4 separate regions of the Homo sapiens genome follow, and regions 1, 3 and 4 are each linked to region 2. The links are contacts of gene promoters, found by promoter capture Hi-C in blood cells and fetal thymus (Javierre and others, 2016). All regions are on one chromosome and are shown on one strand. The core of a region is centred on a gene start or on the middle of the fragment in contact, and the rest is flanking DNA. Distances in the headings are between cores, read along the strand shown. Region 1 holds the start of SZRD1 (SUZ RNA binding domain containing 1). Region 2 holds the start of PLEKHM2 (pleckstrin homology and RUN domain containing M2). Region 3 overlaps ARHGEF19 (Rho guanine nucleotide exchange factor 19). Region 4 overlaps FBXO42 (F-box protein 42).

What was found. The method cuts DNA at HindIII sites, captures the fragments that hold promoters and counts their contacts. A CHiCAGO score of 5 or more calls a contact.
Region 1: a contact is called between a fragment that was not itself captured here and the fragment with the promoter of PLEKHM2 in region 2, in 1 of 17 cell types (total B cells). The highest score is 5.3, in total B cells.
Region 3: a contact is called between a fragment that was not itself captured here and the fragment with the promoter of PLEKHM2 in region 2, in 1 of 17 cell types (monocytes). The highest score is 5.5, in monocytes.
Region 4: a contact is called between a fragment that was not itself captured here and the fragment with the promoter of PLEKHM2 in region 2, in 1 of 17 cell types (activated CD4 T cells). The highest score is 6.8, in activated CD4 T cells.

The regions. Positions count from the first base shown.
Region 1 is chr1:16,365,499-16,372,306 of GRCh38, forward strand. It overlaps SZRD1 (SUZ RNA binding domain containing 1), which reads left to right and starts at 1,744. Exons shown (of 4, transcript NM_001114600.3): 1 at 1,744-1,810. The coding sequence starts at 1,760. It also overlaps the pseudogene RPL22P3. RefSeq lists enhancers at 1,441-1,500, 2,251-2,540. The HindIII fragment of the contact is 4,401 bases long and covers 3,294-6,808 here.
Region 2 is chr1:15,680,322-15,687,111 of GRCh38, forward strand. It overlaps PLEKHM2 (pleckstrin homology and RUN domain containing M2), which reads left to right and starts at 3,999. Exons shown (of 20, transcript NM_015164.4): 1 at 3,999-4,297. The coding sequence starts at 4,238. RefSeq lists enhancers at 1-63, 4,923-4,982 and silencers at 3,853-3,932, 4,023-4,102, 4,623-4,692. The HindIII fragment of the contact is 15,543 bases long and covers 1,245-6,790 here.
Region 3 is chr1:16,198,695-16,205,486 of GRCh38, forward strand. It overlaps ARHGEF19 (Rho guanine nucleotide exchange factor 19), which reads right to left. Exons shown (of 16, transcript NM_153213.5): 10 at 6,657-6,731; 11 at 6,393-6,482; 12 at 6,065-6,225; 13 at 3,722-3,880; 14 at 3,088-3,167; 15 at 456-560; 16 at 1-50. Among named protein-coding and RNA genes, the nearest start is that of ARHGEF19, 11 kb to the right of the region's middle. The HindIII fragment of the contact is 4,968 bases long and covers 133-5,100 here.
Region 4 is chr1:16,255,520-16,261,769 of GRCh38, forward strand. It overlaps FBXO42 (F-box protein 42), which reads right to left. Exons shown (of 10, transcript NM_018994.3): 5 at 1,087-1,240; 6 at 192-302. Among named protein-coding and RNA genes, the nearest start is that of CPLANE2, 21 kb to the left of the region's middle. The HindIII fragment of the contact is 4,911 bases long and covers 1-3,770 here.

The DNA of each region.
Region 1 (6,808 bases), core at 4,244-6,743, 690 kb after region 2:
GACCAGGCTAGTCTTGAACTCCTGACCTCAACTGATTCGCCCACCTCAGCCTCCCACAGTGTTGGGATTATAGGCGTGAGCCACCGCGCCTGGCATCTCCCTGTCCTTATATTTTAAGAAAGGATGATTACAGAAGTGACAATTATAAATCTTCCTCGGGCAGACAAGACACTCCCATAATGATAATAGCTAACCCTTAGGACTCTTACTATGGGTCAGGCACTGTTCTAGGCATTTCAGCATAGTAACTGGTTAAATTCTTACAATCTACTTTTGAAGTAGCTATCTCTAATGTATACACTTGGGGAACTGAGACATAGAATCCTTATGTAACTTGCGTTAAGATCACACAGCTTTTTTTTTTTTTTTTAGTAGAGATGGGCTTTTGCCTCGTTGCCCAGGCTGGTCTCAAACTGCAGGGCTCAAGCGATCCCCCCGCCTCACCCTTCCAAAGTGCTGGGATTATAGGCGTGAGCCACCATGCCCGGCCACATAAATAACTTTTTTTTGAGATAGAGTTTTGCTCTTGTTGTCCAGGCTGGAGTGCAATGGCGCAATCTTGGCTCACTGCAACCTCCGCCTCCCAGGCTCAAGCGATCTTCCCGCCTCAGCCTCCCGAGTAGGTGGGATTACAGGCATGTGCCACCATGCCCAGCTAATTTTGCATTTTAAGTAGAGACGGGGTTTCTCCGTGTTGGTCAGGCTGGTCTCGAACTCTTGACCTCAGGTGATCTGCCCACCTTGGCCTCCCAAAGTGGGATTACAGGTGTGAGCCACTACGCCTGCCCTGACATAAATAATTTTTTTTTTTTTTGAGACAGAGCCTCACTCTGTCGGCCAGGCTGGAGTGCAGTGGCATGATCTCGGCTCACTGCAACCTCCACCTCCCTGGCTCAAGCAGTTCTCCTGCCTCAGCCTCCGGAGTAGCTGGGATTATAGGCGTGTGCCACCATGCCCAGCTAATTTTTGTATTTGTAGTAGAGACGGGGTTTCACCATGTTGGCCAGGCTGGTCTTGAACTCCTGACCTCAGGTAATCCGCCTGTCTCGGCCTCCCAAAGTGCTGGGATTACAGGCGTGAGCCACCGCGCCTGGCCAGTAATTTTTAGAGGTAATACTAACGTATTTATCTACCATTAAAGACCCAGGAGAACTTAGTAGCTGGGAATCCCACTGGTTCTCCCAACTGAGGTGCAATATTATCTTTACCGTCTTTACCTTACGGTAGCGGATATAGTGTTAATAAATGATTAGAATACTGCTTTATGAGCAGGAAATACTGTAATGATTTTCACCCTATCAGAAATAATAAAATGTTTTCTGCATCAGCAGATATTTTTCATCATTTGTTGGTGTTTAAAAATGTTTTCAGAATTCTGAAGATACCATTATCTGTAGTTTAGGAAAACTACGACTCACTTTAAAAGAAAAAAAGTTTTCTTTAATTGCCTGCCCTTAGAAAAGATGGTTCCACAGAACACACTTCCGGTACTCGAGATGAGGACTTCCCTTGAACGCCCATTCTGTAAGACAGATAACGCGTTGGCCCTTAAGAAAGATGGCATCTTTCCGCCTTCTCTGCCCCCTTCCAAGATGGCTGCCCTAATGTACACTTGGGACCTTGCCTGGCGCCTCTTCCGGGCTTGGCAGCGGGCGGGGTCCATTGAGTAAAGCCTTGCGTGCCTGCGCCCGCGACGGAGGCGCGCTTCAAAGCGCAGGCGCGGGGAGGGGGTGGGGGAGGAGGGAAAGCGGCGAGTAAGATGGAAGATGAGGAGGTCGCTGAGAGCTGGGAAGAGGCGGCAGACAGCGGGGTAAGGAGGAGCCGCCGTCCCATGGCAGGGCCGGGCGAGACCTGGCGTGAGGGGAGCCTCCGGGGAGCGGGTCTGGAGATAGTTCTCCCCAAGGAAGGGCCCCATACGCCGGGCTGGGGGTGGTGGAGAGGCCCCCAGTTCCTGAGCGCCGTGAAGGCCTCTTAAAGGGGCCGCGATCCATTTCTCTCCTTTCCTTTGCCTGGTGCGCCTCCCTCCGCCCACTAACGCGCGCGTCACCCGGGGCGCCCCACCCGCCACCCGGGGCCTCCTTTCCTGACCCCCCGCGCCCACTTGCTGGCCGTGGGCCTCTGTGACTCTTTCCGATGAGCCTTGTGGCCCGAGGCACCATTTTAAAGTTCTTGTGCTCTGACCGGGACGGACACACCATGTGGGTGGTGGTGGGGCTTGCGCGGACCAAGGAGGCATGTCCGGCTTCGCAGGAAAGCGGGAGGAGGCAGCCGAGGGCGGGGGGAAATTGAATCCTCTTTGGGCTACTCAACTCTGCTAAAATCCCCCACCATCCGTCACGGTGGACGAGTCGGGTTTTTTTTCTCTTTCACTTTTACTCCAAGAAGAGTTTGTGGGCAGGCAGGCAGGTCTCACGGGGACTCTGCCAAAGCAACCGAAAGCTCTGCGGGGCAGCTCCTCTGCCACTCAGCGATCCGAGGCCCCGGGAAGGTCTAGGAGTTCGCTTGTCGGAGTCCAGGGTGTGATATGTAAAACAGCCACATTCTTGGGAGAGGAGTGGGGAGATGGACCGTTCGACTTGTTTTTGGAGTTTTTGTTTGCCTCCAGAAACTGTAGGAAAATAGTTTATCTCAAAGAGGATCTGTCAATTCTCTTAGATTTGTGAATAATTTGGTCTTTTCAGAGTTTGTCTGTGGTGACCCTTGTGAATATGGGGAGATGCTTTTTTTGTCTCCCCGTGTTCGCGTCTGTTCAATGCTGGCTGCACTGACATCCACCTTAAAGGTTTACGTGTGCGAGGAGTCGAGCGTACCAGGGTAGAGTAGGCGCTGGGTTTTTTTTCCTAAGCGCTTTTTGGGGGTGCTTATGAGCTCTGGAAGAGGCCGGGAAATTGACCCTGGCAGCAGTCAGTGGGTGTATCTAGCTCTACGGGAATGTTGAAACTTGGCTTTGAAGTTTTTTCCGCTGGTTCAGCATTTCTCTCAACGGTTGTTTATGTTTTTCCATTTAGCATAATTGAGAATTTGAAGGATTCGTTCGTTCAGAGGATATTTAGTAGAGTTCTTAATGTGACAACCATCTTTCTTGAGTTTTGGCTTAAGAAAGTTAAAGATTTTATAGGGAGTAACAGGTGTCAGTTGGCTCCTTGTTCATTCAACCAGCATTTTTGAGTGTCTGCTATATGCTAGGCAGTGTGCTTATCAGTGACTTTGTGCCAGAAAATGCAACATTTTCGGTACAGGCGTTTATTGCCTACCACTAATCTGAGTGAATCATCCAGACATCCCTATAAAAAAGCTTGGCTTACAACTTTAATATCATGCAAATGATACGTTTCTTGGGCATCTTGGCCTTTCTTTGGTTTTCCTCACCTGTTTCAAAGGGTCATAAATCCCTCATGTTAGAGAAGTTGGAGGCAAATGAACAAAAATGAATAGGATTCAGCAGAAATTGGGGCTTACTTTAGTTTTTCAGAATGGGTAAGTCAATTAGAAATAGCTAGTACAGTCCCCCATTTAACAGCTGAATAAGCCTAGAGATGTGAGATTTAGAGACTTAGGTCTTTCTGACGCTTGTCGCGTGTTCTTTCTTTTTTCTTTTGGTTCCCAAGTTTTATTGAAAAACTTATACAAAATATTCCAGATAAATGAAATTTAATCCTCATCTTCCTCCTCTTTGTCCTGGTTAATCTGGAAGTAACATAATTTGTAGCTATCTTTGCTGTTAGTAACTAGGAGCAACCAATCACGTAAATTATTCTTCATATATGTTTTGGTGAGATATTTGAAATACCTTTTGGAGAAAGGCACCTCGGATGTCACGTTGATCTTGCTCTTACTCCTTTCAATGGTCGCCATCCCTCCACCAAGGTTCTCAGCTTTTCCGTTCACTTTGATCCTTTCTTGCAAAAACTGCTCAAAATTGGCAGCATCCATGATTCCATCTTCTACGGGGTGAGTGCATTCAAGAGTGAACTTCAGAACCTGCTTCTTTTTTTTGCCCCCCTTCACCACAGGCTTTTTCACAGAAGCCATGGCAGCAGCGGAGGCAGAAAGCCAGAGTTCTTTCTGCTATCCCTTACTTTAGTAATATCCTTTAAAAATGTACCGCGGCCAGGTGCTGTGGCTCACGCCTGTAATCCCAGCACTGTGGGAGGCTGAGGTGGGTGGATAACCTGAGGTTAGGAGTTCCAGACCAGCCTGGCCAACATGGTGAAACCCCATCTCTACTAAAAATACAAAAATTAGCTGGACCCTATGGTACATACCTGTAATCCTAGCTACTTGGGAGGCTGAGCCAGGAGAATTGCTTGAACCTAGGAGGCGGAGGTTGCAGTGAGCCGAGATCATGCCATTGCACTCCAGCCTGGGCAACAAGAGTGAAACTCCATCAAAAAAAAAAACAAAAAAAAAAAACTACAGAGGTGGAACACAAACCTTGCCTTATTGACATCATGAACACTTCTGCCAAAATGCAGGTTCTCTAATATATTTTATTTAATTGAATCCTTGAAACAACCTGTTGAGGCATTGTCCCCCTTTTATAGACAAGGAAACGGAGGTTTCGAGAGTAACCTGTTTTGCGCAAGATCACACAGCTGGGGGAAGCTGGGATTTGATCCCAAGCATGTCTGACTTCAAGGCTGGGCTTTTTTTCTCTAGCATTTTGCTGCTACCTCTCTACCTGGGGACATGTGGAAAATTTGGGAATTGGGTGTTCTTTCTTTTCCTTTTTTTTTTTTTTGTTTGAGAGAAGGTCTTACTCCATTGCCCAGGCTGGAGTGCAGTGGCTCAATCTCATCTCACTGCAACCTCTACCTCCCAGGTTCAAGCGATTCTCGTGCCTCAGCCTCCCGAGTAGCTGGGATTACAAGGCGCATGCTACCACGCCCAGCTAATTTTTGTATTTTTAGTAGAGACGGGGTTTCACCATGTTGGCCACGCTGATCTCGAACTCCTGGCCTCAAGTGATCCTCCTGCCTTAGGCTCCCAAAGTGCTGGGATTACAGGCATGAGCCGCTGCACCTGGCCTTTTTTTTTTTAATTTTTTTTTTATTTTTTGAGATGAGATTGCCCAGGCTGGGCCTCCCAGTAGATTATAGGCATGTGCCACTATGCCTGGCAGCTTTCATTAAAAAAAAAAATATTTATTTATTTTAGATACAGGGTCTCATTTGGTTTCCCAGGCTGAAGTGCAGTGGCATAATCATAGCTTACTGCAACCTTGAATTCTTGGGCTCTAGCAGTCCTCCTGCCTCAGCCTCCCAGAGTTCTGGGATTATAGGCATGAGCCACTGCCCTCAGCCAGCTTTCATTTTTAATAGTTTGTCTGGGCTTATATTTGAACGCTGTCTTGAATTTGATTCCCTTTTCAAATTTCACAAAGGTTCTTGTAAATATGCACTTTTGAAAGAGGGGAGCCAGGGAGATGTTATGTCCACATCACTGGGAAACCAATGGACTGCAGGCTATACATGTCTTTCATATATAGGCAATTGCGTAAAAGTCTTGGCTTCAGGTTATCCCCTCTTCCTACTGGTAATGAGCTTTGAATACCCTACTCCAAAACAGCAAAAACTGGGTGAAGACTAATAACCTAAATGGGAAAATTGAAACTACACAAAAATCCAGCGGCAGTTCTAATCCTTGGAAGTAAAGGATTTTGGAGATCCCTGCCCTCCAACACCACAAGAAAATTTTTGTCTTTTTTCTTTGAGACAGGGTCTTGCTCTGTTGCCCAGGCTGGGGTGCAGTGGGGAACACTCACTGCAGTCTCAGGCAATTTCTGTCTCAGGCAATCTCCACCCGCCTCAGCCTCCCAAGGTGCTGGGATTACAGGCATGAGCCATCATGCCCAGCCAAAAATTTTTTGACATCATGTAGAATTTCTCCCCTCCCCTCCCCTCCCTCTGCTCCCATCCCTCTGCTCCCCCCTCTCCCTTCCTTTTTTTTCCTTTTTTTTTTTCCCCTTTTTTTTTTTTCCCGAGATGGAGTCTTGCTCTGTCGCCCAGGCTGGAGTGCAGTGGCGCAATCTCGGCTCATTGCAAGCTCCGCCTCCCGGGTTCACACCATTCTCCTGCCTCAGCCTCCCGAGTAGCTGGGACTACAGGCACCCACCACCACGCCTGGCTAATTTTTTGTATTTTTAGTAGAGATGGGGTTTCACTGTGTTAGCCAGGATGGTCTCGATCTCCTGACCTCGTGATCCGCCCGCCTCGGCCTCCCAAAGTGCTGGGATTACAGGCGTGAGCTGCTGCGCCTGGCCCCTTTCTTAAGACAGAAGGGTCTTGCTCTGTTGCCAAGGTTGGAGTGCAGTGGTCGGAATACAGCTCACTGCAGCCTCAGCCTCCTGAGTAGCTGGGCCCACAGGCGTGTACCACTATGTGCCTGGCTAATTTAAAAAGAAAATTTTTTTGTAGAGACAGGGTCTTGCCATATTGCCCAGACTGGAAGAATTTTTGTGTGTGTGAGTCATCTGAGGTCATTGTTTCCTGTATAGCTTCCGAATTCTTAGTATCAAGTCCTATTGTGTCATTTGGAGAAAGACTGACTTTGAGAAGTCCCTCACATATTCTGTGAATAGACTTTTTGCTTTTAGTTAGTATGGCAAACACTTTTTTCTTTTTCTTTTTCTTTTTTTTTTGAGACAGGGTTTCGTCCTATATCCCCAATTGTTTAAGACAATCAATAAAATATGCCAGGCGTGGTGGCTCACGCCTGTAATCCCAACACTTTGGGAGGCTGAGGCGGGCAGATCACCTGAGGTCACGAGTTCAAGACCAGCGTGGCCAACATGGTGAAACCCCGTCTC
Region 2 (6,790 bases), core at 2,749-5,248:
CTGTATTCTAAATGCTATGACAGTAGGCAGAGGCTGCAGTCAGCTGAGAACACGCCACTGCGCTCCAGCCTGGGTGACAGAGCGAGACTCTGTCTCAGAAAACAACAGGCTGGGCGCGGTGACTCACACCTGTAATCCCAGCACTTTAGGAGGCTGAGGCAGGTGGATCATGAGGTCAAGAGCTCGAGACCAGCCTGGCCAAGATGGTGAAACCCCAACTCTACTAAAAATACAAAAATTAGCCAGGTGCAGTGGCAGGAATCTGTAATCCCAGCTACTTGGGAAACTGAGGCAGGAGACTCACTTGAACCCGGGGGGGGCGGAGGTTGCAGTGAGCCAAGATGGAGCCACTGCACTCCAGCCTGGGCGACAGAGTAAAACTCCATCTCAAAAAACAACAACAACAAAAAATAAGAATAGAATCATTTTTCCTGGGTCACTGATTTGGAAATTAAGGCAAAGTGACTTGCCTGAGGCCCTAGCATGAGTCAGTTGAGGCTTTTAATTCTTGTTGCCTTTTGACTCAGAGTCCCATGCACTTCTCATGAGATCAGAAAAGTCTTGTGCAATAAATGAATGAGCTTCAATTTCCAGCTTAAGTGACTCCCAATAACAAATAAGTATCTTGTGTTTTTCAGAGTCACCCTTTTTTTTTTGGTTTGCTTTTTGGGGTTTTTTAAGAGGTGAAGTCTTGCTCTGTCACCCAGGCTGGAGTGCAGCCACATGAGCTCAAGAGATCCTCCCTCTTCAGCCTCCAAAGCAGCTGAGGCTATAGACATGCACCACCATGCCCGGCTCGCCCTGTGTTTGACACGCAGAACGGATTCCATATTTGAACTCTGGACAAGGAGCAATTAGCTGCACATCAATGCACATTTGGCCTCTCCCTCTTTCCTGCAAGAAGTGTTGTTAGATAACAATGTCTGTTGTACCAGCTCACATACCTATGCAAACCTTAGGAATTTGGTAGACAGTGAGACCTTACATTCCTCTGAATGTTGTAAAATGCTGAATGTGACCATCTCCCAATACATGCAGATAAAAACAATATGGCAGAAATGCCACCACCTTCTTATGTCACAGACCAAGTGGACGCCCCAGGCATACAGCCAAGGAATAAAAATACCCACTGAGTGTACCATGTGCCCAAGCCATGATCAGCCATTCCTAGGGAGGAGGTGCCCAGCAGAACGCAGTGCTCAGCAGAAGATGGCCTGCTATTCAACAGCAGAGAAGAATCCCAAAGCTTGTTGGGTCAGTTTTGGGGGACTGCATTTTCATGAACCAGAGCTGCATCCAGCAGGTTGGGGCCTGTATGCACCCTAGCCAGGATGGAGTGGGAAGGAAGTGCGCAATTCTGACTCCACAAACACCTTTGGTAAGTAGGAGGCTATTTCTACTCATAGATACCTGGCTATTTATTTCCTCATTCAAAGTAATGTGTCCTCTGTCCTCAACCTTTTCTCTACCTATCCAGTGACTGGAGTCTCAACCCTCATCTGTTCTTATTCTGCTCTCTGAATATGAGAGGTAGATAACAACTCCAAAGAGGCTGTTATCTCTTGCTTTCCTGAACTCAGTACAAATAAGAAAACGCCCTGGGCTGGACATGATGGCTCATGCCCGTAATCCCAGCCCTTTGGGAGGCTGAGGTAAGAGGATGGCCTGAGCTCAGGAGTTCAAGACCAGCCTGGGTAACAGAGCGAGGCCCTGTCTCTACAAAAAATAAAATTCGCTGGGCGTATTTTATTCTGTACTCTCAGCTACTGGGGAGGCTGACGTGGGAGGATCCCCCAGGGAGTTCAAGCTACAGTGAGCTATGATCACACCCACCACTGCACTCCAGCCTGGGTGACAGAGTGAGACCCTGTCTTTAAAAAATAATTTAAGGCCAAGGCGGGCAGATCACCTGAGGTCAGGAGTTCAAGACCAGCCTGGCCAACATGGCGAAACCCCGTCTCTACTAAAAATACAAAAAAATTAGCTGGGCGTGGTGGCAGGCGCCCGTAATCCCAGCTACTGGGGAGGCTGAGACAGGAGAATCACTTGAACCTGGGAGGAGGAAGTTGCAGTGAGCTGAAATTGTGCCACCGCACTCCGGCCTGGGTGACAGAGCGAGACTCCGCCTCAAAAAAAAAAAAAAAAATTAGCTGGGCATGGTGTCACATGCACTTGTAGTCCCAGCTACTCGGGAGGCTGAGGCAGGAGAATCGCTTAAAGCTGGGAAGCGGAAGTTGCAGTGAGCAGAGATCGCACCACCGCATTCCAGCCTGGGGAACAGAGCAAGGCTCTGTCTCAAAAACAAACAAAACAAAACAAAACAAAAAAAACAAAAAACAAAGTACCACTATTTTGGGTCTCTCCTTGGGAAACTAAGGGGCTGGGGAGCGACCTTTGGAGGCTTGTGGGGTCCCTCTGAGATAAGCAATGAATCAGTATTTCAGATGCTAAGGGGACTTCAGGGATGGGGTGGCCTGAGCAGAGAAGAGGGAAGACCAGGGAACCAGAGTTGAGAACTGGGGTGTCTGAGAATAAAAAGGAGGGACTAATCTATGTGTCAGGATATATTTATTTGGGAACTTAAGGAGGGAAGAGAGCCAGGTAGGAGACTGACACCTCTAAGTGCAGGGGCTTTATGAGATGGTGGATTTGAGGAGGGTGTGTGGGAAGAGAGTTGTTACGGTGGGTTTCAGGGGCTGAGGGAGTTGAGGCCCTTGGGATACGTGGGGCTGAAGAAGAGGGATAAGGATAAGGAGTGGGAATGGGGCATTGGGGCTGAAGGTGAGGAGGGTGTGTTTTGGGGGTGGGGAGGAACACCAGGGACCTCAAATGTAGGACTGGGCCTTGAGGGTGAGGCACTGAGGAGGGGAGGCTGTGGAGGGCCAGGGGGCCCAGGGAGGGTCTAGGGCTGGGGACTGGAGTCTAGGCTGACCCGGTGGGGGTGCTGGGTCCTCCAGGCTGCGAAAGCCAGGGGGCCTGGGTCTGCACATTGAGGGGGTGGCTGGGCTAAGGAAGGGGAGGAAGATAAGTGGGGCTTGCAGGCTAAGAGGGTCTTGGGGTCCCTGGCCAGAGTTAGTGGGGTGCACTGGGGTCTCCAAGGAGGGGTCTGTGGACTAAAGAGGGCCGGCGGGAGGGGGCCCAGGGTCTGTGGGTGTCTCGAGTCTCTGAGGAGGGCCGGGGTCTCAGGGTCTGTGGGGGTCTCTGGCCTGTGGGGTCGGAGTCTCCAGAGTCCTTGGGGCCTGTGGGAGTCTCTGGGGTTTTGTGGGGGGATCCTGTGGGCTGAGGAGGGCTGTGGGGAGGGTCTCAGGGTCTCTGGGGAGGGCCAGTGCCTCGGGGTCTTTGGGGGTCTCTGAGGAGGGCTGGGGGCCCAGGGTCTGTGGGGGTCCCCAGCAGGTGGGGTTGGGGTCTCCGGAGTCCCTGGAGTCTGAGGGTGTCTCTGAGGTCCCAGGGGGGAGTCTATGGCCTGAGGGCTGAGGGGGAGGGTCTCCAGGGTCTCTGAGGAGGGCCGGTGTCCCGGGCAGGCGGGGTCGGGGTCTCCGGAGTTCCTGGGGTCTGAGGGTGTCTCTGGGGTCCCTGAGGGAATCTGTGGGCTGACGAGGCCTGGGGGAGGGTCTCCGAGGAGGGCCGGGGTCCCAGGGTCTGTGGGGGTCTCTGGCAGGCGGGGTCGGGGTGTCCGGAGTCCCTGGGGTCTGAGGGTGTCTCTGGGGTCCCTGAAGGAATCTGTGGGCTGAGGAGGGCTTGGGGAGGGTCTCTGAGGAGCCCCGAGGTCCCCGGCAGGCGGGGTCGAGGTCTCTGGCGTCCCTGGGGTCTGAGGGTGTCTCTGGGGTGCCGGGGAGAGTCTGTGACTTGAGGAGGGCTGGGGGCGGGTCTCGGGGTCTCTGGGGAGGGCCGCGGCCAAGGGTCTGTGCGGGTCTCCGGGTCCCCGGAGTCCCCAGGCGCAGGCGGGCCCTGGCGCCGCCCCGCCTGACATCAGTTCCTGCCGCCGCCGCCGCCGCGGCGCACAGCCCGCGGCCTCCTTCCCCGCCGGCCGCGCTCCGGAGCCTCCGGGCCGCGGTGGAGCGAGGGCCCAGGCGAGGCGAGGGCCGGGCGGCGGGCGCCGGGCCCCGCGGCCGGCACGACGGAGCCCCCGTACGGCCGGCGGCAGCGGTTGGCGGCGGCCCCCGGCCCCCGGCGCGGGAAGCGGCGGCGGGGCGGCGGCGGCGGTGGCGGTGGCGGTGGCGGCGACGGTGGCAGCGCCATGGAGCCGGGGGAGGTGAAGGACCGGATCCTGGAGAACATCTCGCTGTCGGTGAAGAAGGTGAGCGCGGCCTCCCTCCCGGCCGGGGCCCCTTCCTCGCCGCGCCCCCCACGCCCTCCGGCGGCGCTCTCCCGGGCCGGGGCCCCCCGCCCTTCCCCTCCGCGACCCGGGGGGCGACGAGCGGCCGGGAGCCCCGGGCCGGTAGAGGGGAAGCGGCGCCGCTCACGTGAGCGCCGCGGCCTCGGAGCTATTTTTAAAGAACAAAGTTGAGGTCAGCATCCTCGGAGCTTCCCCAAACCTGGCCCGGGGCCCTGCCCTCCCGGAGAGGGGTCAGCGACCCTCCGGTCCCCCACTGGGGCAGCGGCGCCCCCGGGAGCTCCTGAAGGAACCCCATGCAGCCTCCTGTGGAATCCGCTGCATCCCCGGGTCCCCCCGCCAGGCTGGCGTCGCCCAGGGTCTGGCAGTCAGGGTGGAGGCCAGTGATAAGCAACTTCACTTTCCCATGGCCTGGGTCCCGGCGACATTGCCTCTGCTCCTGGGAAGTCCCCTGAATAATCTTGCTCAAGGATGGTAGCTTTGAAGAGGTTCACTAGGGGCTTTGATTATAAGAACCTGAAGTACATGGGGATTGCATTTTGGATGCTGATCCGGGGAACCGGGTGACACCACAGACACCTTGCTGTGGGGCTTGCCGCAGTAAACATCACTGTCCCAATTCCAGGTAGAAATGAGTACATACCTGTCAAGGGCATGTATTTGTGATGAAGTTGGCATATCCGCAAAAGGGTCCGTGCTAGAAGGTAGAATCCATATTCTGACGTTTTTGGGCTGGATATAAAAATAATAATAATAAATTTAAAAGAATCCATATTCACTGAAAACCTAAATGGCCAAATCAGAATGGATTTTTCTCTCTCTCTCCCTCTCTGTGTGTGTGTTTGTGTAATTTGAATTCCTGGCTCACCAGATAGTCTCAGAAACTGAAAAAAAAAAAAAAAAAAAGAAAGAAAGAAAGAAAAAAGAGAAAGAAAATGGCTTGGGTGAGGGACTCAGCAGCTTATTTTACTTGAAGAAGCAAAATGGATAGAATTAATTAGATCAACCATCATATTTAAATAATTGTCTGTTTTCCCACTGAGATTCCTCAAAAGCAACACAGGCAAGCTATTTTACCTTTCATAAAGATAAATGTGACTTAAAAAGAAAATAGATTCTCGAATTGCCCTTACTGAAAACATTCCTCTAAAAGCACAGCTAAAGTAACATTGCAGAGATCCAACAAGAGTTTTACGTAGTTTTACTGAGCTTTGCTAATGTAATGGGGTATGGTTTTTGCTTACTCAAGGAGGGCAGGATGAGCAAATACTTTGTTGAGAAGCAGTACATCTTTCCTAATGGAAGAGAAAGGAACACAGGTGACCTTTCTAATCTAATCTGGGCTGATTGTGGCTTTAGGTAGGCCCGGCGTTTGTCTTTGGATTTCAAACAAATGAATGGAGAAAGTCTGTGATGGAGAGGCAGTAGACATGGGGCACGCTGTCACATGTATAAGCATGAGTCTTTTGAAGGCAGAGATTCACTTTGTAAGTCAGGCTGTCACTTATGAGTTAGGTGTGTTTGTTGAGGTGCATATAATTGTAGGTGTTTGGACAAGGACACTTATTGAGCTGGAATGCACCCCAGAAAATGTCACACTAGAAACTGCAAACCCATCCCTGGGTGTATCACAACCAAAGCCATGGGCAGCATCATTGTTAGGAGCATGGATTCTGGAGTCCAGCTGCCTGATTGAATCCCCGCCCTGCCAAATTAATAACCCTGTAACCTTGGTCAGGCTTATTAACCTCTCCATGCCCAGTTTCTTCATCTGTAAAGCAGGGATAAAATTAGGGATGTTGTGGAGTGTTTTTTTGTTGTTGTTGTTGTTGTTGTTTGTTTTTGAGACAGAGTCTTGCTCTGTTGCCTGGGCTGGAGGGCAGTGGTGTGATCTCGGCTCACTACAACCTCCACCTCCCAGGTTCAAGCGATTCTTCTGCCTCGGCCTCTCGAGTAGCTGGGATTACAGGTGTGCGCCACCACACCCGGCTAAATTTTTTTTTTTTTTTTTTGAGACGGAGTCTCGCTCTGTCGCCCAGGTTAGAATGCAGTGGCCTGATCTCCGCTCAGTGCAAGCTCCGCCTCATGGGTTCACACCATTCTCCTGCCTCAGCCTCCCAAGTAGCTGGGACTATAAGCGCCGGCCACCACGCCCGGCTAATTTTTTTGTATTTTTAGTAGAGACGGGGTTTCACCATGTTAACCAGGGATGGTCTCGATCTCCTCACCTTGTGATCTGCCCGCTTCGGCCTCCCAAAGTGCTGGGATTACAGGCGTGAGCCACGGCGCCCAGCGTCTAATTTTTGTATTTTTAGTGGAGATGGGGTTTCCCCATGTTGGCCAGGCTGGTCTTGAACTCCTGACCTCAAGTGATCTGCCTGCCTTGGCCCCCCGAAGTGCTGGGATTACAGGCATGAGCCACCGTGCCCGACTACTTTTTGTATTTTTTGTAGAGAT
Region 3 (6,792 bases), core at 1,367-3,866, 520 kb after region 2:
GGGCACCCACCCCTTCTCACCATCTGCCAGGCGGACCCCTTCCAGCCAGCCTAGGGACACATAGGCCAAGAACAACAGCATCAAAGGGGTACCAGGGCCAGGCCTGGAAGGGAACACCACAGCCCTGATGCAAGCTTTGTCTGCACCCTTGGGGCCAAGGTGACATCATCTCAGCATCTCTCAGCTCCAGGAAGGACCCTGTCTTGAGCTGTCTTGCAGATGAACTTCTGACCTGTTTTTCCTGATATCCTCTGAAAGGGTATTTCCCACTCTCCCCCATCACTCTCCATCCTATATCTTTACAAGCAGGAAGTTCCTCCTCTCATCTAACCTGATTCCCACATGCTGTGGCAGATCAACACTTGCAGAACCTTTCCCTGTGATATCTTAGTCATCTAGCCACCTCCTGCCCACCCAAGCCCCATCAGGGACACTTTCCCAGGAGGCCCCCTCACCGTCACTGGTCCAGGTCCTCACTGACAGGATGTCAGTCTTCTCCAAGGTCAGCTCATCTGGGTGCAGTGCCTTGTATGTCCTAACACACTGAACCTGGGGGCAATCTGACAGCCCAAGGGAGGCTCAGGGAGTCCCAAGGGCAGGATGGCAGGGGGAGGAGCATGGGTAGGGCAGGGAGGGGCAGTAGGAGGAAGTAAGGGGGTGGGAAGGTGGCCATTGAGGCTTCTATTCCTCTGCCACTGCCATGCCACAGGCCCACGTTCAAGCAGGCATACCCTCTGCCCACCCTGGCCTATCTCCTCTCCTACCCTAAACACAAGTGCAGGATTAATCCAGTCCCTCCCAGCTTCAGTTTCTGCCTCTATACCAAGGGCTGTCCCCTCCCCAGCTCAAGCCAACACCTTGCTTGTGACCTTCAGACCCCAACGTCCAACTGCCCCCAGATACCCCACAGAAAACAGTAACGGCCCTGCAATGTGCCCCTAACATCACTCTGGTGCTCCCTTTGGCCCATCCTTCCCAACTGGGATTCAAGCTGCATCGCTCCCGTTTAAAGCCCTCCAGGGCTTCCCAGTCCTCTTAGAATAAAATCCAAAGTCCTCCCTAGGCCCTACAAGGCCCTTCATGGTCTGGCATCGCCCCCTGCTATCCTCGTCTTCTCCCCTCCACTTTCCCTCCCTACTCTCCCCTCCACTTTCCCTCCCTACTTTCCCCTCCACTTTCCCTCCCTACTCGCTCACAAAGCTCCAGCCACACCAGCCTCCCTGCTGTTCCTCACTCTAAGCTCCCTCCTGCCCCAGGGCCTTTGTGCTGGCTCTTCCTTCTGCCAGATGCTCTTCCCCAGATCTTTTCGTGACAACCTCTCCTCATCCTTCAGGGGTCAGATGTTAATTGCCAGGGACCTCCCCTGACCACCTGGGAATAGAGAGCTTACCCCCACCCAGGTGGGACTCCTAGCTCAAGCCAGAGCATCTACCCCCTTCCTGGTCCTCAGCTCTTTTCATTAGACCAGGTGGGCTGGTAGCATCCAAAGCCACAGACTGAGGGGCCAGACCTCGCTTGAATCCCAGTTCTGCCGCTTACTGGCTGTGTGACCAATTTACTTCACCTTCTAAGCCTGAGTTTTCTCAGATATGAAAAATGTCTACCTAGTAGGGTTGCCATGAGGATTAAATTAGATTTAATGCAAATACAAGGCCCCTAGCCCTGGGCCTGGCCTATGGCAGGCGCTCAGTGGGCATGAGTGCCCTTTCTTTCCCTTTACTACCTAAAGCTCAGCCCTAACTCCTCTGCTCAAAAGCCTCCATTAAGGCTGGGTGCAGTGGCTCACACCTGTAATCCCAGCACTTTGGGAGGCTGAGGCAGGTGAATCACTTGAGGCCAGGAGTTCGAGACCAGCCATGGTCAACATGGCAAAACCCTGCCTCTACCAAAAATACAAAAATTAGCTGGGCATGGTGGCAGGCGCCTATAATCCCAGCTACTTGGGAGGCTGAGGCAGGAGAATTGTTTGAACCTGGGAGGTGGAGGTTGCAGTGAGCCAAGATTGTGCCATTGCACTCCAGCCTGGATGGCAGGGTGAGACTCTGTCTCAAAAAAAAAAAGCCAGGCGTGGTGGCAAGTGCCTGTAATCCCAGCTACTCGCAAGGCTAAGGCATAAGAATCACTTGAACCCAGGAGGTGGAGGTTGCAATGAGCAGAGATTGTGCCACTGCACTCCAGCCTGGGGTACAGAGTAAAACTGTGTCTCCAAAAAAATAAATAAATAAAGGCCTCCAATAAGCCAGGCACAATGGCTCATGCCTATAATCCCAGCACTTTGGGAGGCTGAAGGGAAAGGATTGCTTGAGTCCAGGAGTTTGAGGCCAGGCTGGGCAACATAGCAATACCCTATCTCTACAAAAAATAAAAATAGAGGTGTGGTATCCAGGTGTGGTAGTGCATATCTGTGGTCCCAACTACTCAAAAGGCTAAGGCAGGAGGATCACTTGAGCCCAGGAGGTTGAGACTACAGTGATCCATGATCATGCCACTGCACTCCAGCCTGGGCAATACAGCAAGACCCTGTCTCAAAAAAACCCCAAACAAACCTTCAATAGCTCCCTAGGGACACTATAGGAAGGCTCTCTATGATTAGGTCGCACCCTGGCTTACCAGCCTCACTTCACACCCAAAGGAAAAACCTTTATTCCAGCTGAGCAGATGCCTCACCTGCCACCACTACCCCCACCACCCCTCATACCCTGGCTCTGGCTGCTTCTTGTCTTGTTTGCAACTGACGCAAAGATGGAGACAGACCTGGGCTCTGGTCTCGGCTCTGCTACTTACTGGCTGGGTGAACTTACACAAGTCCATTTATCTCTGAACCTCTCTTCTAACTTGTAAAACAGGGGTGAAATGGGAGGCTACGAAGGCTTTATGATCTCCAGGATGCTGCCTGTGGACACAGAGTCCACCTGTGCTATGTAAGTTCTGCCCAGCCTTCAAGGTTCCTCAGAGCTACCCCTGACTGCCCCAGAAGTTGGTCTCTCTCCCCATAGCCCTGCCAGCAACACAGCACCCAGGATGGGAGGGGAGGAGAGCGGGCGAGGGTCCAGCCCAGGGATGTAAGCAGCAGGGATGAGCTACTACCTTCCCCCTCACTGATGACCTCCTTGTCCTCCTGGGGGCTGGAGGGGCACAAGGCTGAGATCCATCGCTGCTTCTCACTTCTAGGGAAGGGGGAGGCTAAGTTGTCACAATATGCAAAGTGCAGTTGCCCAGGGCAGGGTGCTGAAACCAAGGCTGGGGGAGCCAGACATGATGTCCAGGCCTAGGACCCAGGCCTACCCTAGGGACCCATGTCTGCCCCACCCCAGGGCCCACCCCACAACCCGGTTCCCAAGCCTGTGCCCCACCCAGCTCTGAGCATAACAGGCCCAGAACCCCCTGGATGCCAGCCCTACCCCCATCCTGCCTAATGCCACAGTCCTGAAGCCAGAGATAGCAGGGTGTGGAGGTTTACATCCAAGAGATGCCCAGAGGCTGAGGAGGAGGTGGCAGCCCCCTGACACCACCTGTGGGGCAGGCACCCCTACTCTGGCCTCCAGCCCTGCCCTCTGCCCCTGTGTCCTGCCCAAGTCAGGGAAGAGTTGAGCACTTGGGGAGGAACAAGGCCAGGATGTCCCAGGGGTGCCCGCCATGGGGACGGGGTGCCCATCATGGGGACGGGGTGCCTGTCATGGGGAGGGGGAGCCTCCTCTCTCCCATATCCAGGCCCACTCACTCCGTCCGGGCCCGCAGCAGGAACTGGTGCTTCATGTGCTGCCCGTGGAGGAGCTGGAGGAGGAACACGTGGCCGGGGATGCCCTGCAGCTTCAGGCTCAGGTCCCGCACCTGCAGCTCAGCCATCTTGGCATGGACGAAAACGGCAAACTTCCCTAGCCTGGAGGACCGGGGGAGGGGAGGTCAGCCTGGCCTGGGCCCTGGCTCTAGGCACCCACCCTCGGGATCAGGTGGGTTCTGACTGGAAGTGGGGAGAAGGGGTTGCCTGCCCTGCCAGCGTTCTCACAGGGTCCTGCTTCTGGATAGGGCACTGCTAGTCCCCACAAGGAACCAAGAGCTCCTTCCCCGCTGGCTTGCTGGTGGAGGCTGGAGGTGATGGAGACCAGTCCCTGAGCCCCAAGCACACTTTTGACCTTTCTCTCTCTCTTTTTTTTGTTTTTTTATTTGTTAGTTTTTTGGCTTTTTGTTTTGTTTTGTTTTAAGACAGAGTCTCGCTCTGTCTCCCAGGCTGGAGTGCAGTGGCATGATCTCGGCTCACCACAACCTCCGCCTTCCAGGTTCAAGCGATTCATGACCTCTCTCTGAACCTCTCTGCCAAGCGTCTGTTCCAAAGAGCCAACTGGACAGCTCCCCTGAGGAGTGTCTAACTCTCTTCCAGTATATAAGCCCCACGAAGGCTGAGCCTCGTCTCTTTGCCACTGTATCTCAGTGTCTGATGATACTGCCTGACCCACAATTTGGGCTCAGTAAGTACTTGTAGGCAGGATGGGTGGAGGGTGTTCCACAGACGTCAACTCATTCAACAAAACTCGGCATCAGAAAAAACTCAGCTTCTCCCACTCCAAGCCAGATCCCCTTTACTGTTCTCCATTCCAGTGAAAGACCCCACCAGTTTGCCCAAGAGGAAACTCAGACGTCATGCTCACCTCTTCCCTTTCCATCCCCCCTACACCCATCTGGTAGCTATGTCCTGTCTTTCCTCCTTATTGTCCCTTGAATCCACTTATCCTGAAGTACCCTGCCACTTCTGGAGCATCTACCCTCTCCTGAGCAACTGCAAGACCCTCTGGCCTCTCCCCTTCCAGTTCATCCTCCAAATTGGCCAGGAGCAAAATATCATCCCTCTGCTTAACTCTCCACGCTCCCTGCTGCCTCAGAAAAAGTCCAACCTCTCTATCATGACCTTCAACATCCCAACTTCCCTCTGCTGCCTTTCTCCTTTACAAATCCAGCCACATTAGGCTTCATGATTCCCAAACACACATTCCGCTCTTCTACCCTACCATGACTCTGCTGTACTCCTGCACTCAAACTACCTGTCTACCTGGAAAACTCCTACTCATCCTTCAAAACCCAGCTCAAATGTCCTGTCCTCTATGAAGCTTTATTGATTCTCACTCCACACCAGGAAATACCGCAGTACACCCTTATATCAAAACCCTGATGATATGGTTGTCAGAATGTATTTTCACTGTCTGAGAGCTTCTGTGAGCAGAAAACAAGTCTCATTCATATTTATGTCCCTAGCACTGGCCTGCTACAGAACAGAGATTCAGTGACTGTTTACTAAATGAACAAACAAATCAGGAATGAATTCTTCTTATAGCATAACATGTCCATCCTTTTTTGTTTTAAGAGATGGGGTCTCACTATGTTGCCCAGGCTAGTCTTGAACTCCTAGACTCAAGTGATCCTCCTACCTTGGCCTCCCAAAGTGCTGGGATTACAGGTGTGAGCCACCGTGCCCAGCCCACATGTCCATCCTTTATCCCATTCACCTTATCCAGGTAGTCTTCTACCTCACTCTTCCTAACAATCCCAGCTAATACTGAACAAGTGTTCACTGTGAGTCAGGCATGGTGCTGCCATCAGACAGAGCTGGCATCCTCCTGGCTCCCCCACCTACTAGCTCCATGATCTGAGAGTAACAGAGAAGCCTATTTCCCAGGGAGGTATTTGGAGGATTAAAGGGAATAATCCACGTAGCATGCCTTGCACAGAGTAGGTACTGAGTAAATGTTGGCTTCTGGCATAGCTGTGACTCAGGGCAGAGTTGGGACTCTAGGGCTATGCTCTTAGTCTCTGCTCTTACTGGCTGAAGCTCACAGCATCTCCAAGTCCTCGGCATACAGTCTAGCCCTTGATTCTCCCTTCTGGAACATGGACTTGTCTCACATCTCTGCCTTTGCTTCAGGAGCCTCCAAATCTCAGGGTGCCCTGGCAGCATACCCTGGCACAGGCAGGGACTCCCAGGCCCAGGGATGGACTGGTCATAAGCCCAGTGGTGGGGAGGAAGAGAGCCTGGCTCCACTTTACCTACCCACCCCTGACTGCCCCGACTCACTCCTTCCGCCGAGAGAGCAGCAAGCAGTCATTGAAGAGGTGGAGGTAGACTGCCTTGCTGGACAGCTTCAGCTTGGCAGGGGGTGCTGCAGGCAGTGGTGCCAGCTCTACCAACTCTCCATGCCGAACCAGCCAGCGGGCCTGAGAGATCAGCGGGAAAATCTAGAGGGATGGAGAAGGATGGGTCAGGCCCAGGGGCACCAGGCAGAGAGCACAAGATGGTAGATGGGAGGGTGTGGGCAGCGATTAACTGGCCTGAAGCCCCCAGGGCAAGGAAGAAACAAGAGCTGCCCCTTGGGGTCCCCATCCCGCTGGCTGCAGACACACACCTTGCCCTCAAAGTGGATCTTCTTGCTCAGGTGGATGAGTTCCTCTGTCCTCTTCATGGACTGTACACTAGCATTGCACTCCTGCACCAGCTGGGGGAGCCGTGGGGAGGTCACCTGCAGCCCCTCAGCTCCGGCTCCCAGAGCCCAGCCTCAGACTCTTGCCTGGGGACCGGAGACTCTGACAGCTGGGGGCTGTTTTAGAGACGTGCTGGGGGTCCAGGGGGGGCCTCAGGAGCCAAGCAGCCCCTGCCCTGCCCAGCTCACCTCCTTGAGCGCATTGAAGGCCTTGGTGGCCATGTCTTCGTCTTCAGAGCCCTGTGCTGTCCGCTTCAGGATGTTCTGGAAGGTGGGATCAGCACAATGAGGCAGTCCTCATACTCCCGAGACCCGGCCCGCCCAC
Region 4 (6,250 bases), core at 65-2,564, 570 kb after region 2:
AGATGGGGCTTCGCCATGTTCGCCATGCTGGTCACAAACTCCTGACCTCAGGTGATCCACCCACCTTGGCCTCCCAAAATGCTGGGATTACAGGTGTGAATTAGGCACCTGGTCCCTAATTCACTTTTAAACCTGTTATTCCCAGGAGTATTTACCTTCAGGCTCATATGGAGCAAACCAAATGTACTTACATTTGCCGGGATCCTAAAGAGCCACCAAAGACAATCATTTTATCATCTATCACACAGGAGGAGTGGCCAGCCATGGGAGGTGGCCCATGGGTTGTCACAATGCAGTTCCACCTAATGTAAAAAGACAGGAGGAAGTCAAGAAGTCAGCACCACACACTTTATGTAAAAATAGTAAGTAGGCATCCATTTAAAATGATAATCCTATCACTTTCAGCAGAGATTTGTTGGGATAATAAGTAGAGGATGGCATAATGTATTTATGCCTTTCCTACAAGTTTGCTTAAAGTTATCTTCTTTCAAGTTCTGAATGTAAACGGTCTGGAGGGAGAGAGATGAGAAAACGATGACAAGAGACAAGATCATGGCTTCTTTGGCCTGGTTTGCTGACAAAGCACCACCTGCCACCTGCTACCTTTCCCTATGGTCCTGATCAGTAACAGCTAACAAGCGCCACGTACTAAGTCTTCCATTACAAGAAACGGCGGTTGCTGTCATTAAGAGATATATGTTTGAAAAACAATTCAGAGTAAGTCTTGGAGACACAGTTAGGAGTAAGGAATCATCTGGATCTACAACACTCCTGGAGTGTTAGCAGCCAAAGCTGAAGAGCTCGCTGTTCTTCAACTGGCTCATTCATTTTTCTTGAAAGAGGAATAAATCTCTTCTATTTTTTCTCTTTAGAATAAGGATTCTAAATGCAGGGTTCTAAGAGAGTCCTGTAAACTCTCTGAAACTGTTGGTAAAATCTGTGAATATGTGCATTTTTCCCCTCCTGGGAAAAGAGTCCACAGCTTTCCATCTAATTCTCAAAGGGACTCTTGACACAAAAAAACAAAGAATCCACTGATTTAAGGCCTTTTCTTCCAGATTTAAAGAGTTTATCTTTGTGACTTACCAATTTTTAGAGGGTGAGTAAGTGTGTATTTCATCAAAGAATCTCTCTGGCTGGTGTAGGGGATAAGGGCTTGGCCGCGTCCAGCCACCAAACAGCACTAGCAAGTCCTTGTACACGACCAGAGTTGCTCCAGCTTTGGGGGAAGGATAGGACCCTAGGGAAAGTCAGTAACACCATGGTTAGCATTCAGGATCTCACAACAATCCGTAGTTAGGCTATCCATAGATCACCTTTCCCTGGAAGAGCAACAAAAGGGGAACTAATACTACAAAGTGTAGAGGAAAGGTGGAAAGAAAACTGGGTTTGAGTCTGAGAGAAAATCATCACTAATTCACACGTCTTTTATTATTAACAGAGAAATATGAGTTAGAGAAAAGTTACTTAGCCTCTCTCATGTTTATAATTTGCTCACCTAAAATTAGGGATGAGAGTACCTATCTCATAAGGCTGTTTTGAGTATTAAATAGTATATTCAAAGCACCTAACATAATGCCTGGCACATAGAAAGTGCTCAACAAATGAGCACCCCTTCCCATCCCTTTAACAAACTTAACAGAGGTCACAAAGAAAAGAAAGAATGTAGAGGACCAGGGAGAAGTATACATAGAGGCTGGATGTCTGGATGCAACTTAAAAATAACTCGTTACAAAACACAGGTAAGAAAAGGAGGCAGGAGGCAGTTCTTATTTGTCCCGTGAGTCAAATTTTAACATAGGGACCTCCAGGCCCCTAGCTATGGGCTTCACATAACCAGATAGCCTCAGCCTAGCACAAATGGGGCAGACCTTCAAGGATTGGTGTGAAGGAATTCCAGTGAAACCATAAGTCTTACACCAAACACCATCTAGACTGGACCTCTGGGCTACACTGACCAAATTCTGAAAAAAAACACTTTGGCTTATGCTGGAAAACTTTAGAGATAACAAATGTCTTACAGGAGCATAATTTTTCAAAATCTATTGTCTTTGAAATAACAATTGCTATTTTTCCCCATCCCTCACTCTACATGTCACCTTTAGTTTCCTCAAGACCAAAGTAACTTGTCCCAATATCCAGGTGTCAGTAAATACCAGAATACTTTTTTTTTCCTTTGGAGGTGGAGTCTCGCTTTGTCACCCAGGCTGGAGTGCAATGATGCAATCTCGGCTCACTGCAACCTCCACCTCCTGGGTTCAAGTGATTTTCCTGCCTTAGCCTCCTGAGTAGCTGGGATTACAGGCATCTGCCATCATGCCCAGCTAATTGTTGCATTTTTAGTTGAGATGGGGTTTCACCATGTTGGCCAGGCTGGTCTCAAACTCCTGACCTCAGGTGATCTACCCGCTTTGGCCTCCCAAAGTGCTGGGATTACAGGCGTGAGCCACCATGCCTCGCTGAGAATACTTTTTTTTTTAAAATCTTTTTTTTTTCTTTTTGGTTAAAGCTGCAGGACTCATTTTTCAAAGGATATCTTAAGCAGAAGAAATCCCAACACTACATTAACCTGACAGCAGTCGAGATGCTCCAATCTAGGTGGAGAGCTTTGCTTCCTCTTTCAGTAGCACATTACAGAACACTGTTTGAAAAGCCCTGCTCAGACTGCTTTAATGGTGTCACTTACAAAGTCTCAAGGTTGAGAAGGTAGAGCAGAGGACTGTCTTTCTTGTGATCTCACTTAGGGGAACAATACGATTTACTGAGAAGGCATCAGTCCTGAAGAGTACAGGGTGAGCATCTAAGAACACCATGTGGCATCAGCTATTTTTCATTTCTTCTTCCTTTTTTTTTTTTTGAGACAGGGTCTTGCTGTTGCCCAGGCTGGAGTGCAGTGGCACAATTACGGCTCACTGCAGCCTCAACCTCCTGGGCTCAAGGGATCCTCCCACTTTAACCTCCCAAATAGCTAGGAATACAGGCAAGCACCACCATGCCCGACTAATTTTTAAATTTTTTGTAGTGATGGGGACTCCCTGCATTGCCCAGACTGGTCTCGAACTCATGGGTTCAAGCAATCCTGCCGCCTTGGCCTTTCGAAGTGTTAGGATTACAGGTGTAAGCCACTGTGCCTGTCCGTGTCAACTATTTTGAATACTTTCATAAATAAAACCAACACTAATCCAGACCACAGGAACTGACTGTAGAAATGAGTCTTTATTTATTTATTAATCTTGAGACAGGGTCTAGCTTTGTCACCCAGGCTAGAGTGCAGTGATGCGATCATGGCTCACTGCAGCCTCGACTTCCTCAGGCTGAAGCAATCCTCTTGCTTCAGCCTCTCGAGTAGCAGAGGCTACAGGCATGTAATACCATATCCAGCTAATTTTTAAAATTTTTTTGTTGTGATCAGGTCTTGCTATGTTGCTCAGGCTGGCCACGAACTCCTGGCCTCAAGCGATCCTCCCGCCTCAGCCTCCCAAAGTGCTGGGATTATAGGCATTACCCACCTCACCCAGTCAGAAATCTTCTCTAGGAAGAGTTATCACATCAATCTGAAGTGCTGAGGTATTCTCTACCCTCAAATCCCACAAGAATAGTGATTAAAGAGGCTGTTGTCTTTCATATAGCCTTACTGTTCCTGGTCAAAAACATTTACCTCCCCAAGGGGATCTATCTCCTAGCCCAATTAGAAAGCCTAAGTAATATAATGGTCTAGTTAAAACACAACTATTGCTCTAAAATAATTTAATTTGTGAAATACCAGACAAAGCTTCCAAGTTCTTGCCTCTAACTTGGAAATCATCAGTACTATGAAACAGTTAGAAAAAAGAAAAAACAAATAAACACATCACAGACTTCAGCAAAATAGTAATGTAAACTCTCTAGACTAGAATGTGGATTTGGATTTGAGATACTGGGCTTAAAGAAATTATAAATGCAGTATAAGAATATATACCTCTTGCCAGGCGCAGTGGCTCACACCTGTAATCCCAGCACTTTGGGAAGCCAAGGCAGGCAGATCACTTAAGGTCAGGAGTTTCAGACCAGTCTGGCCAACATGGTGAGATCCTGTCTCTATTAAAAATATTAAAAAATTAGCCAGGCATGGTAGCCCACGCCTGTAATTCCAGCTACTCAGGAGGCTGAGGCACAAGAATTGCTTGAAACTAGGAGGTGGAGGTTGCAGTGAGCCGAGATTGAGCCACTGCACTCTGGCCTGAGTGAAAGAGCAAGACTCTGTCTCAAAAAAAAAAAAAAAGAAAGAAAGAAAAAAAAGAAAGAAAGAATATATACCTTTTAAGGTGGGACATATTCATAGAATTTTTAAAAGTATTCATAAAACATGGCATACATAATGTAAGTAGAGGAAAGACTACACTTTAGATCTGTACTGCCCAACAAAGTCACCACTGGCCACATGTTGCCCGTGGTTATCAAACTGAAGAGCACAGATGTAGGACATTTCTATCATTGCAGAAAGTTCTATTTAATAGCGGTATTTTAGAAAAAGGTTTTAACTTTGTCAACAGTGTGCCTATGCTTGGGGATTACGGGAAAGTAGCAGGGATAGATGAATAACTTAACTCCAAGAGAAATGACAATTATTGTTACTATAACTCTTACTACTGCTACTGATGGTAATGACTAATATTTATTGAGCATCTACATCTATTATGTACTATGCAGCTTTTTTTTTTTTTTTTTGAGACAGAATCTCACTCTGTCACCCAGGCTGGAGTGTAATGGCACGATCTCGGCTCACTGCAACCTCTGCCTCCCAGGTTCAAATTATTCTCCTGTCTCAGCCTCCCAAGTAGCTGGGATTACAGGCGTATACTGCCACGCCCGGCTAATTTTTTGTATTTTAGTAGAGACGGGGTTTCACCATGTTGCCCAGGCTGGTCTCAAACTCCTGAGCTCAGGCAATCCACTGGCCTCAGCCTCCCAAAGTGCTAGGATTACAGGTGTGAGCCACCGCGCCTGGCCCAATTACTATGCAGCTTTTTAAGTGCTTTGCATGTATTAATTAATTTAATCCTTCTAAAATTCCTAGTTTTATTCCTATTTTACAGATAAGAAACCTGAGGGCACAACTCTTTAAATAACTTGTCCAAGGTCGTAGAACTAATAAGTGAAGAGCCAGGATTCTAATCCATTTATTCTGGATTTTAATTTTTAATTTTATTTTTTTGAGATGAGGTCTCACTCTGGCACCCAGGCTGGAGTGCAGTGGTGTGACTGATCATGGCTCACTGCACTTCTGACCTCCTGGGTGCAAGGGATCTTTCTACCTCAGCCTCCTAAGCAGCTAGGACTACAGTCACAGGCCACTACATCCAGCTAATTTTTTTCTTTTTTTGGGTAGAGATGGGGGTCTCTCTGTGTTGCCCAGACTGGTCTTAAACTCCTGGCCTCAAGTGATTCTCCCACCTCTGCCACCTCCCAAAGTGCTGGAATTACAGGCATGAGCCACCTCACCTTAAAAGAATGAGCTTTAAAGTCAGAATATATCATGCTGCACTTCATGCATACAGATACATTCCTTCTGAATAGTTGCCACAAACAAGTCTGATGCCTTAAAAGGTCTAGTGTTTCAAAGCTGAAGAAGTTCTTTCTTCAATCTTAATCCGGTAAAGCCAAAGACCTAGTCAGAGAGAAGTAAATTAAACAGAAGGCTATTCTTAGAACCTCTTTTTCTCTACAAGGCTCTGGGACACACTCCACCTCTAATATAGGACCATTTACTTATTCTCCGAACTCTCCAAGGAAAGGTAAGCTGAGGCCAGTGATAATGATAAATCAATATAAGAGATCCTCTAGGATTATCTTAGGTAAGGGCTTTCCAAAACGACGTCTCAGATATCTTGACCTTTTAGAAAGGCAAAATCTTTCCCTCTACTTTTTATCTCATGAAGTTGGAGAACTCCTCCATCTAGAATTTATCTCCATGGCCTATTTTATGTCACAAAGTAGGAGCATCTTAAATAGCTCAACTTAATTTCAGCATCTTAATTATCTCAACTAAGTAGGGGAAAGTTAAATCAATTGTATACCCCCACCTCAATTTGTGGGTGAACTGGAAAAAAACTTACCATACAAGAACAAATGAGGTGGCAGAGATCAACATACAGCTTTTATACAGTGAGTTCAGCAACCAGAAGTCAAGGATACAGGTATATCAATTTTTTTTTTTTGTTTTTGAGACGCGTCTCACTCTGTCGCTCAGGCTGGAGTGCAGTGGCGCGAT